Linked DNA regions of Homo sapiens: regions 2 and 3 are each linked to region 1. Evidence: promoter capture Hi-C in 16 types of primary human blood cells and fetal thymus (Javierre and others, 2016). All regions are on one chromosome and are shown on one strand. Each heading gives the region's core, a stretch centred on a gene start or on the middle of the fragment in contact. The rest is flanking DNA. Distances are from core to core; before and after follow the strand shown.

Region 1 (2,780 bases), core at 131-2,630:
CAGAAAGAAGCCACAGACATTAACAAAAATGTTGCAGTGGGAGAAAGTAACAGGTACATCAACAAGGCTAGAGCCACGTGGCGGGATAATAGGGATGCTGCCCAGGTGTTTCCAGAAGCGATAAAACTTGTAAACTTTTATAATTTTCTGAAGTGCGCTGCATGGTAAAATATGGTCATTGTGCAAAAAAGTTGTCCCCAATGCAGTCTCAGGAGTCACTGACTTCAAAATAAAGAAACGGTCTCTTCGTAGTAAATGTAGTACCTCGTGGCTTTCCCAAAGTCATTGAAAACGAATATCCCTAAAAAGGGTGTGATTTCAAGAGTGAATTACGATCCGCCCGCAATCTGTGTACCGTGTGTGGACGAATGCTTGCAGCGAGCGGTGCGGAAGGCTGTTCAGAGAGGTGTTTTTGGTCTGCCGTGGTCTCCTGGGATAGTCAGGAATGATTCTTGCTACGGGCTGACCCGGGTTCCCTCTTCCCCGAGGTGCAGGGGGTGGGGTCGGCTTCTGGACTGCTCCGCGCTCTCCGGTCCCTACCTCATTGGGCACCGCCCACTTCGTGGGCTTCCAGGTGCGAGCCCTCGCGCCGGGCCCATCTCCCCAAGGGGCCGCGGCGGACTGGAGGAGACGCCCGGGGCCTGGCGGCGCGCGCGTCCGCGGCCAGGGCGGGTGGGCGGATGCGCCGAGGAAGCGGCTGGGCGAGGAGCCTCCGCTCCCGGGCCTCGGGTGCCCGCCAAGGGCCACGCGGGCGAGGGGGAAACCCAGAACTTCCCGCCCGGGAGCGACTGCCCCCGCTCCCGGCTCTGGCTGGCTAGGGGGATGTTCTCGCGAGAGGAGAGGGGGCGCGGGGCACCGCTGGTTTGGGGGCGCGGGGAAGCCTGAGGACGAGGGCCGGGCAGGGAGGGGAGCAGAGGCGGCGGGCAGGGCCGGGGACGCGGGGAAGCCGCTCCCGCCAGTCGCCGAGAGCCAGCCCCTGACGTCAGGAGTTTTCCTCAAAGTCAACAACAAGCCCCGCGGCGACGGCGAGAACCGATCGGCGGCGGCCCCGAGCGGGAGGAAGGAGGGGGCGGGGAGGCGGCGGGGGGTCCCCTCAGCGAGGCGCAGCCCGGGAGGAGGCCGCAGAACCCCTCCCCGCGCCGGGCGCGCCCCGGGGCCCAGAGCCGCCGCCCCGCCGGCGTGACCCGGCCCCCGCCCGAGCGGTGTTTTCTGGTGATGAATTTGTAGCCGATATCCGATTCCCATGTAGAGTCTCCGCCTCCTCCTCTCCCCGCCGCCGCCCTCTCTCCTCCCTCCCCCTCCCGCCGCCGCCGCCGCCGCCGCCGCCTCCCGCTCCAGCTCCGCGGCCCGGCCCGGCCGGCTCCCTCCCTCCCTCCCCTGCAGCCCTTCGCTTGCCCTCCCGCCGGCCGCACCGGGCTCCAGGAGGCCAGAGGCTCTGTGGGGTGGGGGGAGGACAGGAGGGGAGGAGGAGGGAGGGGGGACCCCCGAGTCGCCCCCTCTCCTCCCCCCGCCCCCCCCCGGCTCCATCCTCCGCCGCCGCCCGAGCAGCTGCGGGGCCGCCACCGCCGCCGCCGCCGTTGCAGGTAACAGCCACCGCCCCCAACTCTAGCCCCCTCCCCGCCTGGCCTCCACTCCCTCCGGGCCCCGGGCCCCGGTCCGCCCTCCCTGCCTCCCTCAGGCGGGGGATGGCGGCGGGGTGGGGTGAGGCGGGGGCTTCTGGGTTGTCACCGCGCCGGGGGCGTGGGCGGGGGCTGGGTCACCGGAGGCTTCGGGTGTGGGTGTGGAGGCCGGGGGATGCCCAGCGCGGTTGACACCGACACCCCCCGCTTTCCGGGGAAAGCTGGGGGGCGGCGGTGCGCAGCGGGCCGGGGGAGGGGTGTTCCCGGCCTAGCGGTACCGTCTGTGTCTGGGCTGCCCCGGCCCGGCGCCTGCTGTCTGCGCAACTCTCGCTCCTTCCCCTCGCCCCTCCCCGCCCGGGCCGCGCGGCGTGGGGAGGGGGCGCCCGCCTGGACCGGGGGCGGCGGCGAGGTTATATAACGCGTGGAGCGCCGGTGTCAGTGTGTTTGGGTTGGGGGGAGGGAGCCGTCTGCCGCGCGCCCTGGCGCTGAGGCTGTCTGCGCGTGGGGTGGGGTGAAGGCGAGGATGCACAGGCGTCCCCGGGGTCTCCTTCCTTCCCCCACCCTTCCCCGCCACTGGCGCGCAGGAAAAGACGGCACTGGTGGGGTGGGGGGGGGGGTGTGTGTGTGGGAGGTGGGTAACGTGCTTGTCTGTGTTTTTAATAGTAGTGGGGTTTTGATCCGCTTGGGAGTTGTGTGCTAAGAATAGAAATGTGCGGAAGATGCTGGGTTTGGCTGATCCAGTGATGCTGTCGCTGCTGGCGGCGGCGGCAGCTCTGGCTGCAAGTAAACAGACCAGCCTCTTCCTTGTCCACCTCCTCCGGCGCATCGGTCCGCATCAGCCATGATGCCGGTGGGGCCCTTCAGAGCCCAAAGTTGAAGCCTAGCTGGTTGCTGTGTTGACCCTGACGCCGAGGCGGGGTCACCATCCCTTGTTTGGGATTTCCCGGGAATCTACAGTTAGCCTAGAGATAAAGAATCTCGTTGGGGCCAGGTTTTTCCAATACCGGTATTTACTGTTTATGTTCTGAAAGCAGAGGAAATGCTTACCCACAAGTCAAAGCTGGGATGCTCACATTTCTTCCATCAAAATAATGTTGTTATGAAAATAAAACCAACTCATTTCACCAATGTGGCATTTTGGTTGAAAGCCTGGTAGTTTGC
Region 2 (2,780 bases), core at 85-2,584, 450 kb before region 1:
CTCTCAGCCTGAGAGCAAGCTGAGATGCAGTCTTGTCTGAGTCTGCAGGGTGGTGGGAGAAGAGGCATGGGGCTTTTTGGTTGCAGTAGAGGGAGGAGATTGTTTGAGAAATGGGGGGAAAGAACTGAAACAACCAAAACAATGAGAGTGAAAAGGAACCACGACACCAGTGTCATGGACTTGTGTCTCTGCAGAGAAGCAGGGCATGTCGAAACTGCAAGCTTTTCGTTTCTCTCTCTCTCTCTCTCTCTGTCTCCTTTTTTGGAGTCTCGCTCTTGTTGCCCAGGCTGGAGTGCAGTGGTGCGAGCTCACCTCAATGCAACCTCCGCCTCCCGGCTTCAAACAATTCTCCTGCCTCAGCCTCCCGAGTAGCTGGGATTATAGGCGCCCGCCACCATGCCCGGCTAATTTTGTATTTTTAGCAGAGACAGGGTTTCACCATGTTGGTCAGGCTGGTCTCGAACTCCTGACCTCAGGTGATCCACCCGCCTCGGCCTCCCAAAGTTCTGGGATTACAGGTGTGAGCCACCACGCCCAGCCTAAAACTGCAAGCTTTTCACACAAGACCCAGGACTTACATTTTTTAGTGCTCACTAACACAAGTAATAAAATGTGACACAGAGGGAGGGAGGGAGGAGAGGGGCTTTCTCCTCTACCTTTACAAGAAACACAGTGAAACCGCTTTGCAAAAATTAGGTCAGTGAGAGAACTATGGCAGTGAGGGAGATCTGATCTAGCCAACCCTCATCTTGCCTTTAGCCTTCAAGTTGCCATTAATTGTTAATATTTCTGGGTGTAGGCCAAGCTAACTTTGAGAGTTAAATGATAATAGCCCTTTCCCCAAAGTCAGCTGCTTTTGTAAAAGTAATGAGAGACCACCAGGCTAGCAGGGTAGAGGAGCCTGAATTCTGCTAAGGTGTAGACATAAATGATTGCCAACCATTATTCTGCAGGTCATAAGATTTGCAACCTCCCAGATTACTCCTGCAGATAATATCACCGTTATAGAGCCTAAGATTGGCCTTTGGGATATCTTTTCAGTCTTTTTTTTTGATGTCTGACACTCATGCCTCCACCTAGACCCACTGACCCCTCCTGTGGCCCCACCCACAAAGGACTCAGGCACAGGAGGACCATTTCCCACACCCCTATGATTGCACCCCCAGCCAATCAGCAGCAAGCACCCATTGCCCAGACACCTCCATCCCTTCTCCCAAACTACCCTTCAAAAACTCCTAACCTCTGAGCCTTCAGTGAGGTCGATTTGAGTGATAACTCCATCTCCCATGTGGCATGACTGACCTCGAGTCAATTAAACTCTTTTTATTTTTTTGAGACGGAGTGTTGCTGTGTCACCAGGCTGGAGTGCAGTGGGGCGATCTCAGCTCACTGCAACCTCCACTTCCAAACAATTACTCTATCTCAGCCTCCCGAGCAGCTGGAACTACAGGTGCGCACCACCACACCTGGCTAATTTTTGTATTTTAGTAGAGACTTGGTTTCACCATGTTGGCCAAGATGGTCTCGATCTCCTGACCTTGTGATCTGCAATGCTGTGGTCTCTGTGAATGGATTTTGTTTGTGTAGTGGGCAGGAAGCACCCATCGGGTGGTTATAACAGCATGACTCTAGGCTTGCCACACAGCTGTGACGGTGGCACACAGCAGCCCTCAAATGGCTTCACAAGCAAAAAACAACAGAGGGGCCCAGGGCCAAGGAACGTGAGAGAACTCTTTATGAGCTTAAACGACAAAACCCAAGATCCCCGAAACACTTGGAGAGGATTTTGCAAAGTTAGATCTCCTCTATCAAGGATGTTGGGATAAGAGTCAATGAAATAGAATTTTGGTGGCTGCTGGGGGCCCATCAGCACCTACTAGCTGGAGAGCCAGAGTGGCATGTATTTCATCTTCCCGGGAGGTTTTATTACTGACATTACTCCAGAACCTCCTTATAAATTGGCCTCTCCTGGACACTTGCTCTTTTAGGATTAAAAAACAACTTTGTTATTATTCTCTTTCTACCACTGCCTTCAAATAAAGCTATTTTTCTCCATTCCTGGACAATCTCTTGGACGAGGGCTACAACTCAGTCAGGCACAAAAGTACCAAGCTTTTGAATATTGGAATCGCCTCACTTTTCAATCTAAGGACAGAGCTTCAGTCTTTCAGCCAGTTCATTGCTGCTTTTGCAGCCGTATCTTCTATCACTTTTTTTATTTTTATTTTTTCAAGTGAACACTTAATTTTCCATCCATTTCTTTTCTTCTTTCTCTCTCTCTCTTTTTTAAAATTAATTAATTAATTAATTTTTTTTGAGGCAGTCTCACTCTGTCACCCAGGATGGAGTACAGTGGTGCAATCTCAGCTCACTGCAACCTCCACCTCCTGGGTTCAAGCGATTCTCATGCCTTAGCATCCTGAAGAGCTGGGATCACAGAAACATGCCACTGCACCCGGCTAACTTTTGTATTATTATTATCATTATTATTATTATTATTTTGGTAGAGGCAGGGTTTCATCACGTTAGCCAGGCTGGTCTCGAACTCCTGACCTCAAGTGATCCACCCACCTTGGCCTCCCAAAGTGCTGAGATTACAAGCATGAGCCACCGTGCACGGCCTCCATCCACTTCTGAGAGTGACATTGCAGTGTTTGAGCCAAGATTCCAGTCTTTGGGCCTACATATACTATCTTCCCCTTCCTGCTCCCAGTCCTCAGAGTTTCCTGTTTGCTTTTTATTTCTTTTCTTTTCTTTTTTTTTGTCTCAAGATCTGTTTG
Region 3 (2,780 bases), core at 171-2,670, 360 kb before region 1:
CCCAAAGTGCTGGGATTAAAGGCATGAGCCACCATGCCTGGCCTAGAGAAATCTATTACTGAACATTTAGCTTAGGGGTCCATAATTTTACTGTTGGGCTATCTGAAAGTAGGGTTGTTTTAGACTCTGTAAGAGAAGCTTTGGGTTAACTGGGAGACAAAATGTAAGAATTGGCTTAATTCACAGCAACTGACTCTATTATATCTCCAAGGTTTCCACTCTTGGATTTGCTAACTCTTAGGGAAGCTAGAAGCAGACTGCCTGCATGTGGGTCTTGGCTGTATTCCCTACCAGCTGGGAACATTCGGCAGGTTACTTAACCGCTGAGAACTTTTGTTTCTTCCAGTAAATGGAGATACTGGTGGTATGAATTTCATAGGGTTGTTAAGAAGATTGAACATGAAATGCTTAAACAGTCTCTGCCATGGAGTAAGTCTTCATGATGAATATTAGCTTTTATAATTATGACCTCAGGCACACCCATCCACACACAGAGCAGTCACCACCAGGGAAACATGGTGGATTGAGGAGAGATGGCAGAAGTGGCCCTCGCCTCATCTAATGACAAAGAAAGGAAATGACTAGAACCGATGAGGTCTAAATGTAATGGAGAGGAAGCTTCAGCAATGAGCCAAGAGTCCCTCTGCTCACAGTTTTCCAAGGGAGAGAATTACGGGAAGACACAGCTTCCGGCATTTAGAAGTGAGAATGTTTTCATCATCAAAATAGTGAGGTCTATTTTAAATAGTTTGGCTAATTAGGTGCTGATTAAATTGCATTGCTCCCATATGTTTGTGCTTTCTTCTATGCAGAGTTTATCTGCCTGAAAAGTCTAGGTAAATTATGTGTCTATGAAGGAATTCTTTGATACCTTGCACCTAGTAAGCACTCAGAAGTATTGAGTAAAATTATTTTATGAAGCTAATTATCATAATGGTACAAACAGCGTCTAATATGTTTGAATGCTTATTCTGTGCTTCACATAACTATCTCATTTAATCCTGTGAGGTTGGTGCTGTCATCATTTCAATTAATTCCTAAGAGACTGAAGTTAAAGACTAGAGGATCCTTGGTGTGTCAAGATCTCTCTGACGTTTCTTTGTGTGCTTGGATTTTTGTTGTTGGGTATTCTTAGCACAAAATGCACCTGCAGGAGAAATGATAGAAATGACTTTCAATGGATCTCTAAATAGACGTGGCTGCTAAACAATCAGGAGGGGTGTCATATGGCTGAGCTGAAGATAGGAGCTTCCTGAAGATGGTGTGGTGACTCTCGGAGTTTGATGGATGGAGAGGGGTGGAGTGGGTGGAGAGGAGGAAGAAGGAAGAAGAGTGAGCTGAAACCACCTGTGAAAGCAGACTGGCAAAGGGCCCTTGGGCATGGCAATTTTGGGTAAAGCTGAAAGATACTGGCCTGTCTTCACCAAAGATGGTGCTGACTCATTGTAACTGACCCCAGTCCATCTGTCCAGCCTCATCTCCTATTATTTACTCCTCTCAATGTCTACAGTCTACTTTCTGTTGCCTACATGCACCATTTCTTTCCACAAGTCTCTGTTTTACACACAGTGTGTCTTCTATCTTGCATGCCCTTCCTCATAGCCCCAGCTGGTAAATTTAATAAAATCATCACTGATTTTGTGCCCTTTCCTTTGCCAAACATTGAATATAGGTTATATCTAATTCTTGTAACAATTCTGCAAGGTAGGCATTATTATTTCCATTTTCCAGATGGAGAAACAGAGCCCCTCCCCCCGCCAAGGCTAAATAGTGAACACAAGATTATACAATTAGGTAGACCTAGCGCTAGGATGTAGGTCTGTCTGATTCTAAAGACTGTCACATTCTTCTTTTCCTATTCTTTTAAAAATTCCCCGTCACCCTTCAAGACTTAGCCTTGGCTGCTCTGCCTATGGAGTAGCCATTCTCTATTCTTGTACTTTCTTAATAAACTTGCTCTCACTAAATTAAAACAAAAAGCAAACAAAAAAGACTTAGCCTTAATGCTGTTTCCTCTGTGAAGCCGTAATGGAATTCCTCAGACAACTGCATATTCCTCGACAGTTCTGTAATGCTCTGTACACACCTACAAAAATAGTATTTATTAACGTTGTATTCTAATTAGATGTCTGCACGGCTTACCCAGTATAGATTTCATAAACAGATGGGAAGGAGTATAGCTTTATATATCTTTATAACCTCCATCTTCCAACCAAGCTTTTCTCATTGCTTGTCACATAATACACCCTTACTAAATTATTGTTGAATTAATGAATAAATTAATTAATGCTAAGGAGCTCATTTGTAAAGCTGTGAACTTCTTTCTCTTTGCCAGATTATCGATTCTGCCTCTAAGTATGTTCTCTGTCTGCATCCCACACTAGCGTGATGAACACTGACCAGATGGTTAGTTATGGAGACGTCCATACTTGGAACCCAAAGCCTGCATTCCAAGCCAGTGTGCTGGAGACTACTGGAGGCCACACCAGACCCTTGTCTACCTTCTCTGTGGCCTCCAAAAGAGCAGCAGTAGCAGCAGCACCAAATTTAAGGACAATGTGAAACCCTGAATTAACCCTTCAGGATCTGACCTGGCTGTAGAAGTCTTTGGCCTTCCCAATCCAAACCCATCTTACAGCATTTGCTGAGTTACCTCACCTCACCATCATTCCGCACAGACACGCAATACTTTCCTTCCATGGCTGCTGTGGCTGATGCTTTTCCCAAATGTTTGTTGTAGCCAAATATCCAAGCCCCAGCACTCATGTGCAGTTTCTGTT

The links. Contacts are between HindIII fragments. The CHiCAGO score rates a contact against its expected background, and 5 or more counts as called.
Region 2: a fragment that was not itself captured here is called in contact with the fragment with the promoter of AKT3 in region 1 in 6 of 17 cell types (fetal thymus, non-activated CD4 T cells, naive B cells and 3 more); the score reaches 6.6 in fetal thymus.
Region 3: a contact is called between a fragment that was not itself captured here and the fragment with the promoter of AKT3 in region 1, in 1 of 17 cell types (total B cells). The highest score is 5.8, in total B cells.

The regions. Positions count from the first base shown.
Region 1 is chr1:243,848,843-243,851,622 of GRCh38, reverse strand. AKT3 (AKT serine/threonine kinase 3) reads left to right here and starts at 1,380. Exons shown (of 14, transcript NM_005465.7): 1 at 1,380-1,583. RefSeq lists an enhancer at 1,971-2,471. The HindIII fragment of the contact is 10,171 bases long and covers 1-2,780 here.
Region 2 is chr1:244,296,686-244,299,465 of GRCh38, reverse strand. All of the region lies in intron 1 of LOC105373262 (a long non-coding RNA gene), which reads left to right. Among named protein-coding and RNA genes, the nearest start is that of SPMIP3, 55 kb to the left of the region's middle. The HindIII fragment of the contact is 1,560 bases long and covers 555-2,114 here.
Region 3 is chr1:244,205,031-244,207,810 of GRCh38, reverse strand. No RefSeq gene overlaps it. Among named protein-coding and RNA genes, the nearest start is that of SPMIP3, 150 kb to the left of the region's middle. The HindIII fragment of the contact is 1,599 bases long and covers 621-2,219 here.